Linked DNA regions of Homo sapiens: regions 2 and 3 are each linked to region 1. Evidence: promoter capture Hi-C in 16 types of primary human blood cells and fetal thymus (Javierre and others, 2016). All regions are on one chromosome and are shown on one strand. The core of a region is centred on a gene start or on the middle of the fragment in contact, and the rest is flanking DNA. Distances in the headings are between cores, read along the strand shown.

What was found. The method cuts DNA at HindIII sites, captures the fragments that hold promoters and counts their contacts. A CHiCAGO score of 5 or more calls a contact.
Region 2: a contact is called between a fragment that was not itself captured here and the fragment with the promoter of AQP3 in region 1, in 1 of 17 cell types (endothelial precursors). The highest score is 6.9, in endothelial precursors.
Region 3: a contact is called between a fragment that was not itself captured here and the fragment with the promoter of AQP3 in region 1, in 3 of 17 cell types (endothelial precursors, fetal thymus and naive CD4 T cells). The highest score is 6.4, in endothelial precursors.

What each region holds. Positions count from the first base shown.
Region 1 is chr9:33,445,695-33,449,582 of GRCh38, reverse strand. AQP3 (aquaporin 3 (Gill blood group)) reads left to right here and starts at 1,990. Exons shown (of 6, transcript NM_004925.5): 1 at 1,990-2,160. The coding sequence starts at 2,053. RefSeq lists a silencer at 1,815-2,004. The HindIII fragment of the contact is 14,846 bases long and covers 1-3,888 here.
Region 2 is chr9:33,280,169-33,284,056 of GRCh38, reverse strand. It overlaps CHMP5 (charged multivesicular body protein 5), which reads right to left. Exons shown (of 8, transcript NM_016410.6): 8 at 1,987-3,248. The coding sequence ends at 3,198. Among named protein-coding and RNA genes, the nearest start is that of NFX1, 8.4 kb to the left of the region's middle. The HindIII fragment of the contact is 3,383 bases long and covers 10-3,392 here.
Region 3 is chr9:33,299,233-33,303,120 of GRCh38, reverse strand. It overlaps NFX1 (nuclear transcription factor, X-box binding 1), which reads right to left. Exons shown (of 24, transcript NM_002504.6): 3 at 1,700-1,858. Among named protein-coding and RNA genes, the nearest start is that of NFX1, 11 kb to the right of the region's middle. The HindIII fragment of the contact is 7,607 bases long and covers 1-3,888 here.

The DNA of each region.
Region 1 (3,888 bases), core at 741-3,240:
TCCGCCTCCTGGGTTCAAGTGATTCTCCTGCCTCAGCCTCCCGAACAGCTGAGATTACAGGCACCCGCCATCACGCCCGGCTAATTTTTGGTATTTTTAGTAGAGACAGGGTTTCACCATGTTGGTCAGTGTGGTCTTGAACTCCTGACCTCAGGTGATCTGCCCGCCTCGGCCTCCCAAAGTGCTGGGATTATAGGCGTGAGCCACCACGCCCAGCCGGGGGCCCTTATTTCTCATATTCGTCCCTCAAGGGACAAGTCCTCAGGGTCATTAGCCCACCTGGATTAAGTCCCTCTGGAAAATGATTTCTTTGATCTCCTCTGGCAATGCTGCCATAGAAGCTCAGCCTAAGGGCATGTTGTTTGCTCCCAGGCCACCAGATGTTTCCTTGTTATTAAAAGCAGCATAGAGGGCAAGGTTGCACTTCGGGAGGCCGAGGTGGGAGGATCGTTTAAAGCCAGGAGTTTGAGACTAACCTGGGCAACATAGCAAGACCTCATTTTTACAACAGATTTTTAAAAATTAGCTGAGTGTCATGGTGGCACATAGTCCCTATAGTCCCATCCATTCTGGAGGCTGAGGTGGGAGGATCACTTGGGCCCAGGAGTTCGAGGCTACAGTGAGCTGTGATTGCACCACAGCCTGGGTGATGGAGCAAGACCCTACTCTTTAAAAAGAGAGAGAGGGCAAGGTTGTCCCATGATCCCCCTCAGATAGGGCTGACTCCCCCATAATTAAGTTTGCTTAAAGAGGCAGACTTGCTGGGCTCAGTGGCTCACGCCTGTAATCCCAGCACTTTGGGAGGCTGAGGCGGGTGGATAACTTGTGGTCAGGAGTTCGAAATCAGCCTGGTCAACATGGTGAATCCCCATCTCCACTAAAAAAACAAAAATTAGCTGGGCATGGTGGTGTGCACCTGTAATCCCAGCTAATCGGGAGGCTGAAGCAGGAGAATCACTTGAACCTGGGAGGTGGAGGTTGCAGGGAGCCGAGATCACGCCATTGCACTCCACCTAGGCGACAGAGAGAGACTCCGTCTAAAAAAAAAAAAGAGACAGACTCTTCCTTGGCTGGGGGTAAGTCAGATGGGAGAGGAGAGGGTTAAAAACAGCTGGGACTCAGCCTGCTGGCAAACATGTGGCATGTGGCATGTCGGGGCAACTGCAGCTCAGCCTCTGGAGCCATGTGAGCAATGCACGCAGGTACACGTGTGACAAGCTAGGTCACCTAGCCATGTTCAACAGGCATGTGCACAGCCACGAGGAATGCCCAGCCGTACAATTAGGCACACAGGACATCCGCCATGTGTAGACACAGCTGTGGACATAGCTGGCCAGGACATGCGACACACGACGTGCTCATAGCACAGGGAGAAGGGCCCATGAAGTCTGGTTGGAACTCAGCACGTGTGTCTGTGTGCCCACCTGAGTCTGGACTGCTGCCCCTCTGACACTAGCTGTCCCCTTGAAGGGTCGGTGCCTTATCTGTCCTGACAGAAGAGACAGTGTTGCTTCTCACTTGGGGCTCGCAGCCTCCTCCTCCTGCCTCGAACTGAGGATCTGTTGGGTCCAGTCATCCTGGAGAGATGCGGCCAGTTTCTTTCTGACAGGTCTCCTCCTGCCCGCAAGGAAGTGGGGTGATCACAGGGCGCAGGTGGTCTCTATGACAGCTGCATCCTCTCCAGCCATGGCCCTGAACCCTGCCTATAATCCCACCATTGGCTCTCAGATCTGCCTAAGCCTCTCAGCCCCCTTGACGTCCCCTCCCTTAAGCGCCCTCCGAAGGCCACCCGTCCCTCAAAGCTCCTCACACTCCATGCCCGCAGCTCCCTCCACCCGGCGTCCGCACCAGCCTCCCAGCCGAGGTGGGGCGGGGGCGAGGGGGCGCGCACTCCTCGGCGCTCCGGGACTGCAGGGCGGGGCTGCAGGGCGGGCGGGGCCCGTGTCTCCAGCGCTCCTATAAAGGGAGCCACCAGCGCTGGAGGCCGCTGCTCGCTGCGCCACCGCCTCCCGCCACCCCTGCCCGCCCGACAGCGCCGCCGCCTGCCCCGCCATGGGTCGACAGAAGGAGCTGGTGTCCCGCTGCGGGGAGATGCTCCACATCCGCTACCGGCTGCTCCGACAGGCGCTGGCCGAGTGCCTGGGGACCCTCATCCTGGTGGTGAGTGGAGGGAGCCGGGGAAGCCCTTCTCTCTCCAGCCCTTGCACTCCCCAAACTCTCACTTCCCCGAAGGGGCTGTGTTTTCCAAGGTAGCCTGGACCCACCTCCCCAGCTGTGACCCCCACGCTTAACCGCGGAGGATCAAGCTGACTTCCAAAGTCCTCTTCCCCACGGTTCTAACCCCCTCTCTGACAGCTCCGACTCTTGCCAGAATGACAGCTGTTACTCCCCAGTGATAGTGCCGATCGTTTACCCTCCCACAAGTGACTCAGCCAACAGGCTGGGGGCAGCGGTCACGCTTGCAGTCTGGGACAGCCAGCCACTTCCCCTGCCTCCCACACCCCTCCAGATTCCCAGAATCCCAGCCCCCAGATGTAGGGGAGGGGGCGGAGGCAAATGAGCCATTATTAGGTTATTTGGGTCCTGGGTGTCTGGCCTCTAATGAATAATTAAGCCTCAAAAAGTCCAAAGGTTGAAGTGAGTGAGGACAGTTTGCACGAGTGGGGGCAGAGGGTGCAGGCCACATGGGCTGCGAACAGCGAAGTGGGAAGGGAGGCAGATTCTGACGGTAGAAGGGTGGGAGGAAGCTAGGCCCAGGCACAGAGGACGCGTGTCTAAAGTTGCTCACCTGGTGCTCAGCGACTCCCAGGCCCTGTCTGTTATCCAGACAGATGCTGTCAGCGTCTGTGCAGAAGACGACAAGCATTCTGGTTACTCCCTGGCCTCTTGGTTACTCTGTGGGTTCTCTGAGTGAGCATTTCCCTGCCTGAGTTACTCCTCAGTCCTAGTTACTCCTTGGTCACACCAGTTTCACCCTGGTTTTGTTCTGAGTGACTCTGTTTGCACTTCTTAGGTCTGGCAGACCCACCAGTTATGTTCTATTTCCTGTCCCAGTTACTCTGATTTTTCAGCCGCTCATGTGGTTACACCTGTTTTCCTCTGTGTTCAGTTGCTACATTGCAGTGAGTGGGTTACTCCGTTCCTGCCCCAGCCCTGGGTAGTACAGACCAGCTGGCCCACTGTGGACTAGGAAGCCTAACTAAGGGCAAGTAGGGATCCCCAAATGGTTGAGGATCAGGATCTATGGGCAGAGGAGGGCTGAAACCCACTTCTGGCTTCCAAGAATAGGAAGTGGGGAAGCCACAGGGGGCATTTTATCCACAGCCTCCCATAAGATTAGTCGTCCTATCAGCCAGCCCTAGCCCCTCTCTCCTGTGCCAAGAAGGCAATAGGAGGTGGCCTTTATCACTCTCCTGCCTCGGAGCCCTCACTCCTATCGGAGTCCTGAGTCCAGCCACCTGTTTTAGAGCAGCCAGGCTAGGGGAGGATGATGTCTTCTATTTTCCTAGAGGGGCCTCCTCATTCCCTCCCAAGTCTCAGTTCACTCTCTCACAAAGGAGCCGTTAGTCCTCCCACTGAGCCCCAGGATCATCAGGCTTATCCCAGACCACAAAAGAAGAGTGTTAAATTTTAGGGGAAGGGTTGCAGACTCAGATGGATGTGAGGTATTGGATATCAGTGAGAAGCAGAACTTCAAGGACTGCATGAACTGGAGGGGCAGGCCTGGGGATCCCTTTGTAGTGGGTGAGTGCCTGCCTGCCTACCTGCGTGTTGGGAGCCTAGGCCTGCAGTGGCAGAATCAGGGTTGGCTTTGGGGTGAGGAAAGCCCCTTTCTCTGAGATACCTGGTGTGAGGGCAGGGGGCGGTGCTGGCCGAGAACTCAGGGCA
Region 2 (3,888 bases), core at 452-2,951, 170 kb after region 1:
AAGGAAGCTTCAGGTAGGAGAAACCATGAACAGAGGCAAGGAATCATGGCTATATGGTGGATGTGGGGGGACCAGATGCAGAACAATTACTAGATCACAAAATTGAAAAGTGTGACATGACACAAGCTGCAGAGCAATTATTCTGTCTCTTACTGGCAAGTGACAGGAACCCAATGCCAACTACTTTAAGCAGAAAAGGGGGTTAAGTTTATTTGCAGAATCCTCAAATACCTCACAGAACGAAGAGTTGTAGAGACTTGGAATGTCAAGGATCAGAATTCAGAGCTGAGTGCCATGGACATCTTTCAGTCTGTCTCTCATCTTGGCTCCCCTCTGGCTTCAATCTCTCATACTGACAAAGAGTAGCACTTCCCCTACTTTCTATTTAGAAAATGTGAGTTATGGACTCTGATAGACACAGCGTGACCACATACACACTTCCATAGCTTGGAAGGGTAAGGACAGTACTACTCTAAAATTGGCATGTTCCTAATAATCGCACAGTTGAAATGGGGGAGCAGTTCCCTTGAAAGAAAGGAAATGCTTTCTGAAAAGACTAGGCAATAAACCATTACAGATAGGCAGAGGCCAGGTCATTGGCAGCTTTTTATGCCCCGGTGGAAGTATTAGAGGACATTAAAGAATTCAAGTCAGATTTATATTTTAGAAAGGTAAGAGTAGCTATATGTGATCAGTGTACTCAAGGAAGTGAAACTATGCGAGAAGAGAAGACATTCCAAAAGACTATGTGAGAGACATCTAGGCCAGCGAGAGTTGAGAGAAGGAGAGGAGGAGTTAGATTTGAGAAACAGGGATTAGGGTTTAAGGATAATTGACTGTGTAGGCAAAATGTAGGCATCAAGGACAACTCAAGCGCTTTCTGTTTTAAATGATAGGAGAATAATAATTCCATTAGCCTCACAGCCTCCCATCATGAGACAATGGTTTCCCTGTCTCACATCTCCCATCATGAGACAGGGAAAACAGAAGCAGGAGATTCAGGTCTGAGGAAAGGTGATAGGCTGTTTCAGCTATTTGAATGTGAGGTGCTTGTGGGCTTCTGGAACATCCAAATATTTGTTAGGCAAACAGCTGGATATAAATAAGATTCTGAAACTCAGGGGCAAGTTCAGGGATAGAAGTATAGATTTGGAAGTTAGCAGTTAAAGCCATGAGAATAGCTGAGATCACTAAATGTAAGTAAACAGAGAAAGAAGTCTGGGGGGTAAAAGCTAGAATCCAGAGGAGCAGTAACATTACAGTTAGAGAGTTGAGGATTTCAGAAAGAAGCCTTAGAGGGAATAGTTAGAGGAACAGGAGAACCGGAGAGTACTATCACAAAACCCAAGAGAGTAGAGATTTAGGTAGAATGATTGCTCACTCATATCCAATGCACTAATGTGGTCTAGCTAAAGGGCTAAATATCACCCACTAAAATGGGCAATATATGAATCACTGGTAACACTAAGCAAGACGAGAAATCAACGAGAAATGTTTGCTGACAGTGAACCCCAAGATAATGAGCTTAATTTGGATATGTTAGATTCTAGGTAACGATGGGGCATTTAAGTGGAAATGCCCAGAATTGAAAATAAGGATAAGAAGTCTAGGCTAGTGACAGTCATTTTGAGTCATTAGTGTGTAGGTAATAGTTGATATCATGGGTGTGAGATTTCTCAAGTAGAATACAGATTGGAACTCTAATGGAAGAAATATTCAAGGGGCTAAGAAAGAGGTATCCATATAAGAGAGTAAGTGGGCCAGATTAGAAGAAAACACAGAACTCACAGAAAAGCCAAGAAAGGTTTCAAGAAGGTAATGATGAATACTATAATGTTTGCTCCCTCTGGAAGGCTTCTTGAGAAGGTGAGGTTGGAGATAGGAGAGGGTTACATACGTTATCTCATCTCCACTTGTAACTAGACAAGAACTCCTGAAGAGAGGAACTTGGTAACCCCTGGGCTGGTACAGAGACTTCTACAAAGCTGGTGTTCCTAAATGTTTATTGGTTTGATCTGCAGACACATGAGAGTCAGGTGCACATAGCACTGTGAGGCACCCAGCTAGGCTGGAGGGGCCATGCTGTTGGCAACAAGTTGAATGAGGAAGGGAGGACAGGATCATTAAAGACCCTGAAATTGGGCAGGAGTTTGAACTTGCTGTAGTACTCCAGGCACCTTCCAAGAAAAGAATGAAGCAGTTTCTTTTTTATTGTTAACAATCCCTCATATAAGAATAGCCCCTTGCAGTTAACAAGGTACTTATGACCATTACCTCAATTATTCCTCACAAAAGCTCTGTGAGTTAAGCATGATTTTACTAATAAGGAAACAGAAGGTTAGAGAGGTTGAATAGACTACTCAGTAGTTAGTAAATGGTAGACCCAGGGCCCAAGCCCAGATTGTTCCTTGCTCTTTCCTCACAATGCTACTGGTTAATTTGGTTTCTGTAGTGGAGTTATAGGCTGAAATGACATTAAAATTCTATTAAATTTGGTTTCCGCAGTAGAGGTTTTAAGCTGAAGTGATATTATTAAAATTATATCCTTTTGAAAAATATTTATTGAGTATAAATAAATGTCCTATACATTAAATATCAAGAAATATTCATAATTGATTACAAGTCAAGATGTAATACTGAGGGAACCATAGAATCAAAATACCCACTCATGATACAGTAGTGATAATTCCATTCCAATAATGGACACAGTAACGACTTGTTCACAAGACACAACAAAACCCATCAAAAAGGCCATCACTTTAACCAACCTATAATACCACAATAGAAAATGATTCTGAATCATAATATGAACAGCCCCAATAATCTCATCTTTGTCTTATCAATTTATCAGGTCATTTTGAGACTGTAGAGTTACACTGTCATAGACTTTTAAGATTCCATTTCCTTAGTTTTATTTCAAATTATTATTAATGAATGAAAACAAGTCATACGAGCTAAAAATACTTTTAAACTGAGTTCGTTTTTCATAAGAAAAAAAGGAATCAAATTTTAGTACGAAGAAAGCATTTCCCAAGCAATGAGTCTCTTAATGGAAAAAATAAAAGAGCAATGTAATTAAACTTTCCTTCAAAGAAAGGAAAGAAACCTAAATCTGTTATGGCAAATTTGGAAAGATAAATATTTCCTAGTCCCATAATATGTGTTTGTTTTACAAGATATGCTTGAATGATGCAAATCTATGAAGCAGGGATCTGTGGCAATCCAAATTCATCCACCAGAACTCCATCCTGTAAAAAGGAAGCAATGTTTAGTGCCACTATTTTTCTATTTGATAAAAAAAAAAAGGATTACAAACATTTAATAGTTAAAACTCATTTCCAAGTATTTAATCAATCAAAACCAAAATCGCAGTCATAAGATGAGAACAAGCTTTTTCATGAAAGGTAAAGGAGGAAGTGATGAATCAAGAAGAGAACTAGAAAGGGCCAAAAGGGGGCTCCTCCACAGGGGAAAGAGAGTGAAAGAGGGAGAAAGAGAAATCTAAGAGTAAACCTGGAAAGGGGAAAAGGAGGCTGGGAGAGTCAAAAAGGAAAGGTTGAGGAGTGGGTCCTTGCCTCCAGATTTGCATTTTCACTCTGGACCAATACCTTTCTTAGCCTCCCAAATCCTTGAAGGAGCAGTGCCCGTGGATAGGCAGTCACTTCCATATCATGCTTTACTATAATCATAGGCAGCGACATCACTATCAATGAAAACACCAGGGCTGCTCTGCCTATGGAGTAGCCATTCTTTTATTCCTTTACTTTAAAAACAACAACAGGCCGGGCGCGGTGGCTCAGGCCTGTAATCCCAGCACTTTGGGAGGCTGAAGCAGGTGGATCATTTGAGGTCAGGAGTTCGAGGCCAGCCTGACCAACATAGTGAAAT
Region 3 (3,888 bases), core at 1,035-3,534, 150 kb after region 1:
ATCTATAGGAAGACACAATATTGAAGTAGTGGTAATAATTTCAATGTTAAGCATATCAGACATTTAAGGAACAAATTCACAATACTGACTGCTTAGCTTGAATACAGCATTTTCCACTAAATATGGGGTTCATTAAAAAAAAAAAAAAAAAAAGGCCAGGTGTGGTGGCTCATGCCTATAATCCCAGCGCTTTGTGAAGCAGAGGTGGGTGGATCACAAGGTCAGGAGATTGAGACCACCCTGGCTAACATGATGAAACATCATCTCTACTAAAAATGCAAAAATTAGCTGGGCGTGGTGGTGCGCGCCTGTAATCCCAGCTACTCAGGAGGCTGAGGCAGAAGAATCACTTGAACCTGGGAGGTGGAGGCTGCAGTGAGCCGAGATCGTGCCACTGCACTCCAGCCTGGGCAACAGAGTGAGACTCCCTCTCAAAAAAAAAACAAAAACAAACAAAAAAAAACCACTAGCTAGGCATGGTGGCTCATGTGTCTAATCCCAGCATTTTAGGAGGCTGATGCAGAATTGCTTGAGCCTGGGAGTTCAAGACAAGACTGGGCAACACAGCAGACCGTCTCAAAAAAAAAAAAAATTAGCTGGATGTGGTGGCATGTGCCTGTAGTCTCAGCTGCTTGGGAGTCTGAGGCAGGAGGATCATTTGAGTCCAGGAATTCAAGGCTGCAGTGAGACATGATCACACCACTGGACTCCAGCCTGGGTAACAGAGTAAGACTCTGTCTCAAAAAAAAAAAAAAAAAAAAAATACAGTTAGATAGAAGGAATAAGATCTAGTGTTTAGTAGCACTATGGCTAACAACAATTTATTATATATTTCAAAATAACTAGAAGAGTAGAAATGGGATGCTCCTAACACAAAGAAATGATAAATATTTGAGGTGTTGGAATCCCCATATGCCAATTACCCTGATTTGATCATTACACATTGTACGCTTGTATCAAAATATCATGTGTACCCCATAAACATGTAAACTATTACGTATGCATAGTAAAAATTTAAAAATGAAAAAAAAATGTTTTTTTGTTTGTTTGAGACAGGGTCTTGCTCTGTCACCCAGGCTGGAGGGCAGTGGTGCAATCTCAGATCACTGCAATCTCCACCTCCTGGATTCAAGCAATTCTTGTGCCTCAGCCTCCCGAGTAGCTGGGATTACAGGTGCCCGCCACCACGCCTGGCTAATTTTTATATCTTTAGTAGAGATGGAGTTTTGCCATGTTGGCCAGGCTAATCTTGAACTTCTGACTTCAGATGATCCGCCTGCCTTGGCCTCCCAAAGCGCTGGGATTACAGGCGTGAGCCATCATGCCTGGCCAAAAATGAGAAGAAGATAAATTAAAAATAGAATTACCATATGATCCTGCAATCACACTTCTGTTTATGTATCCACAGGAAATAAAATCAGTAGGTCAAAGAAAAAATAATAAGTAAAAGCCATCATTTTCAATAAGAGTGACTGATTTTGTCGTATCTTAAAATATATTTTAATATTGTTGTTTAGCTGGTTTATTTAAGATCTATAACTTAATTCTGGTCATATGAAACACATGATCAAGGTAACATACTCTCCCTGCAGAAAAAGTAGTTAAGAGAAATTAAACTGTATTTTTAAAGCTGGGCTTAATAATACTTAAACGTATCAAATAGGGGAGAATAACTACTCAGAAGAGAGAATTAATTGACCTGCTTGAGATGCTGGAGACCTTGCCCATTTCTTTATGCAGTTCAAATGAAACACATGGTAACAGCTCTGACAACTCCACACTGGGGCCGTGACACGAACCAATTCACAGCACACCATGCACTCGTATTTTTCTGTTGTTAGTTGTTCAATTAGAGAACCTGTTTAAAAAACAAAATAACAAAAAAGATTAACTCAAACACAAAAAACCATTCCTCACTTTAATCAACCAAGGATCAGCAAGTCACTCAAGAGAAGAATCCAAACACAGAGATTTTAAGGGATATCTGATTCTGGGTAAGGCAGCTGGCTATTCAGACTGAGGCCAAAAAGGGGCAGGAATTTGCTGAGGAAGAGGATTTAGGAAGGAGACACTCAGGTGGGGATTCCCACAATTAAGGAAACATTCCCAGGAAAACAGCAGAGTAGCCAAATGCCCCTTGTAACATAGCCTGAGGATCCACTGGGCAATACAGGATCTTGCTTTGCATTTTCTATTTTCCAGGATCCTCTAAATCTATCAGATCCATGGATTTAGGTTAGAAAGAGGCTCGTGAAGCTGTAGTGTCAGCTATAAGAAGCCCAAGTCTGGGCAGGTTCCAACAACCCATGAGTGGTGAGATGGCTCTAGCCGTTGCCCTCAAAGTCTTTAGTCATTCACTTAACAAAGATATTCTTGGTGCCTACCATAAGCCCCATGGTGGTGTTACAGTCCCTGGCTCCAGGAGCTCAAAGTCCAGTGACACAGACCAGTGTGTAGTATCAGAATAATCCTCCCAGATCTATTCCTGAATACCTTCACCCACTTCCAGATTTTTTTCCTCAAACACAATTGCAGCAAAGTCTTTCTAGATTTCAATACAGCCAGATACTCTCAAAACTGAGTGTGAGTGTGTGTATATGCTTTTTTGAGTACATACTTTTAGCACTGCATTTATTTCATAATATTATTGTTATTTGCTTTCAGGTCTAAATAAGTTAAAAGAATAAAATTAACCTTAAATACAACATTGCAAGCACATTACATATTATTATTTAGTCCTCTCAAAAAGGCTGTAACAGGTTGGACACGGTGGCTTACACCTGTAATACCAGCACTTTGGGAGGCCAAGGCGGGCAGATCATGAGGTCGGGAGATCAAGACCATCCTGGCCAACATGGTGAAACCCCATCTCTACTAAGAATACAAAAATTAGCTGGGCGTGGTGGAGTGTGGCTGTAATCCCAGTAGTAATCCAAGGAGGATGAGGCAGGAGAATCTCTTGAACCCGGGGGCGGAGGTTGCAGTGAGCCGAGATTGCACCACTGCACTCCAGAGTGAGACTCCGTCTCAAAAAAAAAAAAAAAAAAAAAAAAAATGCTATAACATAGGTACCATTTTACAGATGAAGAAACTGGCTTCATGTAGTTAGATCATTTATCCAAGGTCACACAACTAGAAATTTAAAAGTCAAAATTCAAACTTGTCAAACTATCTGACTCAAAAGCGCACACTGTAATATTCCATAATATTGGCTCTCCTAAGATTTACTTTCTGATTGTTCAGTTTAATGTCAAAAGAAATAGAGAACACCCTGAGACTGAAAGCTCAGGAGAAGGGAGAGTTTTGTCTACCTTGCTGAGTGTAGTATTTCCAGTGTCTGGCATATACTAGGTGCTCCATTAAATATTTGTTAAATTCATGGATAAAGGAATAAATGAGTGATATTTAGTCTGTTCCACAACCTCTTTCTGTGAAAGTTACAGGCGTCACCAAAGTTTAGGCTCGAGTGCAGTGGCATGATCGTGGCTCACTGCATCTTCAAACTCCTGGGCCCAAGCGATCCTCCCACCTCAGCATCCTGAGTAGCTGGGACCACAAGCGTGTGCCACTATACCTGGCTGATTTTTTTGTTAGTTTTTGTAGAGATGGGGTCTACCTCTGTTGCCCAGGATGGTCTTGAACTCCTGGGCTCAGGTGATCCTCTTGACTCGGTTTCCCAAAGTACTGGGATTACAGAAATTTAACCAAATTAAACAAAAATCTTCCCTGAATAAGAAGTAAATAAAACAAGAGCAGAAACATCTTTTCCAAAAAGGAAAGATGAAGAAACTGTCAGAGATGGTAGGAGACTCAGGAGACATGACTAAATGCAACGTGGTATCCTGGATTGGGTCCTCAAACAGAAAAAGGACATTGGCAGAAAAACTG